Linked DNA regions of Homo sapiens: region 2 is linked to region 1. Evidence: promoter capture Hi-C in human tissues and cell types (Jung and others, 2019). All regions are on one chromosome and are shown on one strand. The core of a region is centred on a gene start or on the middle of the fragment in contact, and the rest is flanking DNA. Distances in the headings are between cores, read along the strand shown. Region 1 holds the start of NEURL1B (neuralized E3 ubiquitin protein ligase 1B). Region 2 overlaps STC2 (stanniocalcin 2).

Region 1 (3,726 bases), core at 318-2,817:
TGCTTGAACTTGGTAGGCAGAGGTTGCAGTGAGCCAAGATTGTGCCATTCCACTCCAGCCTGGGTGACAGAGTGAGACTCTGTCTCAAAAAAAAAAAGAAAAAAAAAAAGGATCACGCTAACGGACCTTTCTCAAACAGAACTTTGGGGTTAAAAATTAAGTCACTGGGCGAGCACCTGTAATATGAGAAATTAGTAACTCAAATGCAAGGCAATCTTATGTTCAGACATATGACGTCAGGGGGGAGTGGGGAATCAAGGTTTCCCGGAAGTGGAAGCTTGGAGCTGGCCTTAAAGACCCTAGAACCCTCTGGGATGGGTCATGTACTGTAAGCAGAAGGCACCGGAGATGCAGAAGGCTGTCTCCTGAATACCCCGCTTTTATTCGCATAGCTTCAGGCTAGCTTTGCCCTGTACCATTGGAAGATCTTGGGCACCTCTCTTCCACTCTCAGAGCCTCAATTTCCCTATCTGTGAAATGGAAGTAATAATACATATTTCATAAAGTCTCAAGGGATACAAGAGCATGAAAAATAGAATTGAAAAAAACAGCTCATTTGGAATCGGGTCTTCTTGGGGAAGTCATTGCACTTCCTGGGCCTCAGCGTTCCAGCCTGTGAAATGGAGCTCGAGAAGGGCACAGCTGCACTTCCCACTGAGTGTGGTCCAGGTGCCTGAATGAGGAATGCCTGTTACTGCCTCTGCCAGGAACACTCTACCTATCTCTTCTCATGGCCGACGCCTTCTAGTCCATCAGATGGAGCTTATGTGCCCCCACCCCAGATTCTCCCTATGCCCCCAAACAATGTCATCTCCTCACTCTACTGGGATCTGTTTTATTTTCTTCCTGGCTTTGATTATTATATAATGTGATCGTAATTGCTTGTTATTTCTATCTTCAGCATGCCATCTCCAGGGCAGTGGGGACCTTGTCTGTATCTACCCGGCCCAGCACAGTGCCTGGTGCATAGACTGTGCTCAATAAATATTTTAGTGAATGAGCGAATAAATTAATGAATGTGGGTTCCCTCTTCCCAATCTTTGGACACTGGGTTTCTTCTATTCCTCGGTACCTGGCCTAGGGGATAGAAAAGACTCCACCCAAACCCGGGAACCCTGGGTGTACTGTCTCCAAGCCCTTTACATGGTCCCAGGGGCCCGTCTGCCTCTGTGTAAGTTCCCCCGGGGCCGAAGCACTCTCCAAAGAGGTCTGCCGGGGCTAGGACTCGGCCGGCTGGGGCCCCGCGCCTGGAAGAGGGCCTGGCACACAGTGGGCCTTCTCAAAGTGTTAGAACAAATGGGTGACAGGCCAGCAGACTGCCGATCCTGGCACCCGAGGGCACCCAGCTGCCCTGCGCGCCTTCCCGGCCCGGGCGCGGGAGCGGCGAGGGCGGGAGGCTTGGCTGTGCTTCTCCCGCCGCCTGGTGCAAACTTTCAAAAGATGCGGCGGCCGCGGCCCCGCCCCTGCACTGTTGGAGGCGGTGGGAGGCGGGGGCGGAGCCGGCGGGCCCGGGCCGGTGGCTCCGCCTCCTCCTCCCGCAGGCGCCGCCGCCGCCTCCCTCCCGGCTCCCGCCCCAGCTGCCGCCCGCCGGCTCGCCCGTGCAGCTGCGATGCCCCGGAGCGTCGACCCCGGTCCTGGTCCCTGGCCCGCCGCGTAATTAGCCTCCGCGCGCCCAGAGCGCGCCGCCGCCAACGCCGCGCCCGACGCAGCGATGGGCAACACGGTGCACCGGACCCTGCCAGGTACGCCGGGGAGCCCTGCCCGGGAGGCGGGCGCCGGGCTTCTCTCCTCCGGGGGACCCGCTGGGTGACTCTGGAGAGCTACCCCACGGCCCTTGGAGCCCTCGGCTCGCAGCGGGCTGGAGTCTCCGGTACCTCCCGGACCTCAGCTCGGCGCGCGCCCCGCGGCTGGGCTTTGCGCCCCGGGAGGGCGGGTACCGCGTCCTGGTTACCTTGGGGACCCCAGTCCTCATTCTCCCGGCTTTGGCCAGATGCGCAAAAAGGGCCGCTGGGGCGATGCCGCGCGCCCCCTCGCCTTTGTTCCAGCCCGAGGGCGCTGATGAGCAAACTCAAGGCGACCTGGGTGGGGGTGACTGGAGCCGGGCTCGCCAGGGCTTCCGACGGTCAGAAGCCACCCGTGGTGCCAAGACTGCAGCTGCCGAGAGTGAGGGGTGCTCTCAGGGGCACCCCAGTTTCCAGCCTCCCAGCGCCCCCGCGGCACATGCTGCCGTGCTTTGGCCACGTTCCCACGCGCACCCCGGTTGCGCCCCCCTCTGGTGTCCGCTCCACTGGGGACTCCTTCGCCCCCTCGGAGTCGCTGCTGCAGATCGCATCGCCCCCTAGTTAAAATCGCCCCAGAATTTCTGGGACCGGAGTGAGGGGATCCGGAGCAGGTTAACGGGGTAGGAGGAGGCCTTACTGGAAAATACATGGTAATTGTGGGAACAGATCAGCGGTCCCGCGCCCGCGCGTGCCCGTGGAGGTTCAGTGCCCAGCACTTTGCATACCCCAGCTCGGTATGCAAAGAAGCTTCGCGATAAAGATGTGTATCCCAGTTTTACAAATAAAAAAATTGAGTGTCAGAAGAGGTGAAATGACTCACCCAAGGTCACACAGCTAGTAGTGGGAGAATCTGGAGTGGGACCTGTGTCTCTCTGCCCTCCCTCCCCTCACACGCCCAAGTATTTAGAAGTATTTTGTCTTAAGGCTGGGCCTTTGTAGCATCCTTTGGGCAAAAGGTGAGAGGAGTGTGTGTGTGTCTAAAGCACAAAGGCTCGGCTCAATGGGGAAGCAAGTCAGCTGTGAGGTTAATTTAGTGTGAGGTTCTGGAAGAGGGACATATCACCCCATCTCTGCTATAACACTCCCATATAGCTCTCCCTTCTAGGCATTACATGCTCTTAAAGAATAATTTCCCCTGGAGCGGGTTGAAGTGGACAGTGCTGAGCCCAGGATTCCCAGGGTCAGCTTATGGAAGAGGAGCCAACTCCTACTTTACAAGCCTCTGAGCAACTGCACTCAAACGTTCAAATTCCCAGAGAGCTGTAATCATCAGCAGAGTCACCAGCTAGTCAGTGGCAGAGGTGGGATTAGAACCCAGGTCTGCTTACTGGAGGGTGGCCTCTACCTCCTGTGGACAGGGCTATTGCCAGGTTGGGGGAGAACCCACCCGCGGGTCAGGAGATATCTGGGGATGTTGGCAAATAGGGCAGCAGATATTCTCGCCACATAGACACTGGGATGAGGCACCTCGGCACAGGCCCCTTTCCTTGGTTTCTTAATTTAAAAATGTTTATACTATTCTAGTAAAAAGCCATTCTGCCACCTGTGGGTCAGCCCTGGGGTGCGTAAAGGGACAGACACACGCCAGGCAGGCTAAATATAGCTAGAGATTTATGTATTCTCCATCCCTCTCAACTCTCTCTCTGTGGACTGGGCCACCCTAGTCTGGGAGCCGGCAGTTAAGGTTGGTTACCCACTGCAGTGTCTAAGTATGGGGAATTCAGACTCTTCTCTGGGGATTGAAGCTTGCACTGAGTTTGAGGAAGGGGTCAGAACCGGAATTCCTGAGTCACATCGGGTGGCAGATGCCAAGAATATGAAGGGCCGTTAATTGTTTTCCGACCTACCAGTATGAGTTTCTTGCACACCCTGTGCTGTTTTTTGTACCTCTGTGCTTGGCATGTGATGGTCCCCATGCATGGATTGTCCTTTCTTGTCTAGTCTG
Region 2 (3,550 bases), core at 750-3,249, 680 kb after region 1:
GTTTCTGATCTATCTGACCACAAGCATTGCAGCTTTGGGCCATCACCTTGAGCAGGGAAGTCACCATGGAATGTGAGGTCATTCATAACAAGGAGCAATCTGATTTGTCCTCCCTAAGTCTGGGCCACCAGAGAGGCTGCGTTACAGCCCATGGAGCCTTTTCTTTGCAAGTTGGCAGTTGTTGCTATGTGGAAAGAGCAGACTGTGTTTTGAGATGTGTGAAGTAGTTTACTGCCTTTTTATTAATTATTCCTCAAGTTGGAATTGAGTGAACTGTCCTCACCTCATGGATGCAAAAACTGAGAAAAGCAGGGAGAAGGTGGCTCTTGGAAGCTTCTGGGCTTCAGGGCCCAGGGCTTGGCTGAGAGCAGAGCAGAGAGGAGGAATGCTCTGGCTGAGAGAGATCCAGCTGCTGTTTAGGGCCTGCTTGATGACTTTGGAGTCAGCAAGTCTGTGCATGGCCGCTGGGCAAAGGGCTTTAAACCCCCTAAGGCAGGCCCCTGACAGCGCAAGACAACCTAACCCTGTCCCTTGGACTGCCCTGAGGTGGGCAGGTGGGCATGCAGGAGGCAATATGAGGGAAATGCTCCACGCGTGCTTGTTTCCTTCTATTTTTTGAAAACTAGAAACTGCCTCCGGAGCTCAAGTTCACCGAGTGTGTCTGCTAAAGCAGCAACAGGATTTTAGCACCTGACTGTGCCTGCCGCGGCACCAGGGCTAGGTGAGCACACTGCAGGGGTGAGGGTCTGTCTTTCTGAGATACTAACTGGATGCTGTCTTCAAGCTCCTTTCCCCAGAGTAAGGGGAGGGCTGTCTTGGGAATATGCAGACTGTCTTTCGCCTTCCCGGCCAGGGCGTTCTGTCTGCCAGATGAGCCCCCAGAAGCCCAGGGCGGATCTGGATCCCAGAAGGCTGGATGAGCCCATGCTGTCCTCTGCCCTTGGCCCTCTCTCTCTCCAGGAGGAAGCTGTGAACTGCGGGGAGGGGTGTGTGTGCCGAACCAAGTTAATCCAAGCCGTGTTCCGAGCTGGCCTGGTGCCTTCTGAGGCTGCAAGCTCAGCCCGTGTCTAATGACAAAGTCCAGCTCGTTCAACTGGGTGTCAGCAAGCCTAAAGGATTTTAAAAAATACTTGGAGGGGGATGTGCCTGGAGCCTGCCAGCACCCAGTGACATGGCGAGTGGGGGTAAAACCAGGCAGGCGGCAGCTAGGGGGAGACAGATGCTGTGCAGAAAGTGGGGCGGGCAGGAAGGGGTGAGGGGAGCGGAGAGGAAGAGCTTGAAAAGAGCAGCATTAACTGGGGGTGAGTGTTCTGGTGTGGATGGGGGTTGGGTTGAAGAATGGGGGTGGTGCAGATTCTGGGGTGACTGTGATTTCCTCATCTCTAAAGTGAAAAGCAAATTCAGTTCTCTCTTTTTTTTTTTTTTTGACCAATGCCACACATTTGGAAATGGGCTTCTTGATATTTGGGGACTGATAGGATACTTTAATCAGTTAAGATGGTTGGGAAAAAAAAACCTAAAAAACAGGCAGTTCAGCTAGAAGTACAAGTCGATGCACCGCCACATCATGGCTTCAGAAGGAAAGGTAATGGGGGTTTTTGGGAAGCTGGAGTTAGGGGAGACCCCTGCCTAGAGATGCTGACTTAGGGGGAAGCAAGAGGAACAGCATGTGACCAGGCTTCTTATATGGGCTGCCTGCATTTCCAGAGCAGGCTGGGGTGGGGGGTCATAGGCTCATTCTGAATGGTGTGAGGAGACCATGGCCCCGAGGGCCACATTCCCAAGAAGGAGACACTAGAACGCCAGAGAGCTTTACCTTCTTCTTAAATTAAGGGGAGGGGGTGGGACTTCCAACCTTCAGTTTTCCCAAAGAATACTTTTCTCCAAGAAAGATAGAATTCCTGTGCTCCAGGCATGCATTATAGCCTTATAAACTAGGAATGGGCCCCATTCCCCACCGATTCCTGAGGCCAGCAAACTCTCTCTAATGGGGGACAGGGCTAGAGGCGAGTGAAGCTCACGGTGTTTCCTAGCCATGGGGCATTTTTCTCTTCCAGAGGCACCTGAAGGAAGGGAATTTTAGAGTGTTCTCCTTGTGTAATGGGGATATATTTGATAAAAGGACAAGAAGCCCACCACATGTGGGGAGCTGTGAGCCCTTTCAGGTCTAGGAGGGAGATAATAGGCTGGGAGCAGGTTTGAAGTCTATTCCTGATGACTGGCTTCAGTCATGTATACCAGCAATTCCGAAGCTTAAAAGCAGGAATCAAACCTCAGTCCGAGTTCTCTAATCTCTTAGCTTCACTTTCCTCCTCTTGGGCATAGTAATTTCTATCTTGTAGCATCTTTGGGAAAGATAAATGAGATAACCCATGTAAAGGCCCTGGCCAAGGGCCTAGACCATTAGAAAAAAAATTAAAAAAACATAAAAAAAGACAGCTATCATTGTTGTTGATGATGCTGTGGCTGCTATTGTTCCCTTAAAAATATTTGAAGAATAAAAAATATTTTGTAAGGCGTTAGCCTAATTCGAGGAAAATGCAATATTGTTTTGCTTTTGGCAAGAGCTTCCTGCAGAGTTTCGCCATGAATTGTATGATTCTAACACTGTAGCAAGGGTGTTGCAAGATGCCTATGACCTTATAACCAAGTGGAAAGAGACAGGAGGTGCTTGCTGTTCTCTGTCATCTAAGTGGTGTTGGTGTGGTAGGGACATAACTGGAAGAAGGTTGTGGCACAAACTGAGGATCAAGAGTTCATAAAATTATACCGATTTGGCTCAATGAGTCACCGTGGAGAGACCAACAGTGCCATCAAACTGGTAATGACTTGTACTGAACTGGTTGGCTAGTGGCTTTCTTTCTGCCCTGTGTCTCTTAGGAAAGAGCCATTGTCAATATTTAAAAAAAAAATCTTCAGGGGCTCCTGGCCCTGCCTCATGTTAGGAACAATTGTGTACCAACATGCTTTACCATGCTGCAAAATTTAGGATCCTGTGGCTGAAATATTTTGTAAGAAATGATGCATCCTGAATTTATCATTGAATTTCAAGTCTTGAAATAAGTAAGTTCACATTTCCTTGTTTTGGCATAGAAGTGTTTAGCTGATTAAAGTTTTTGGCACTTGTTTTGCATTTCCTCTGAGAGGGCACTAATGTATGAGAGAAGGTAAACCGAACCTTCTAAGGGAAAGGAAAGTTAAGGAGGCAGGAAAAGCATCTATAGCTCTGTTTTCGGGATTTAAGAGTATAGGTTCTGGAGGCAGACTGCTCAGCAGACTGGAGCCAGGTCCCAAGTCTGGCTTTGCCTGTCACTAGCTGTGTGAGCTCTGCCTTAGTGAGTCTCAGTTTTCTCATCTGTCAAATGGAGGTGACGAGGGCTGTGGTGAGGATCAAGTGAAAAATTCACAAGGAGCCCTTAGCCCAGTGCCTGGCGCTTAGTAAATATTCAACAAATGTTATTAGCAATTTGCTGTCTGTAAGGACACCTCTACAGCTACTCAGAATATTCTGAGAGCTAGTGGGTTCTTGGCTAAGGGGAAGATGAAGAGT

Evidence for each region. The method cuts DNA at HindIII sites, captures the fragments that hold promoters and counts their contacts. A contact is called where the count stands out against the background at its distance.
Region 2: a fragment that was not itself captured here is called in contact with the fragment with the promoter of NEURL1B in region 1 in 1 of the 25 tissues and cell types used here (spleen).

The regions. Positions count from the first base shown.
Region 1 is chr5:172,639,696-172,643,421 of GRCh38, forward strand. It overlaps NEURL1B (neuralized E3 ubiquitin protein ligase 1B), which reads left to right and starts at 1,568. Exons shown (of 5, transcript NM_001142651.3): 1 at 1,568-1,742. The coding sequence starts at 1,712. RefSeq lists a silencer at 1,330-1,619. The HindIII fragment of the contact is 6,548 bases long and covers 1-3,027 here.
Region 2 is chr5:173,319,397-173,322,946 of GRCh38, forward strand. All of the region lies in intron 3 of STC2 (stanniocalcin 2), which reads right to left. Among named protein-coding and RNA genes, the nearest start is that of STC2, 7.2 kb to the right of the region's middle. The HindIII fragment of the contact is 5,604 bases long and covers 1-3,550 here.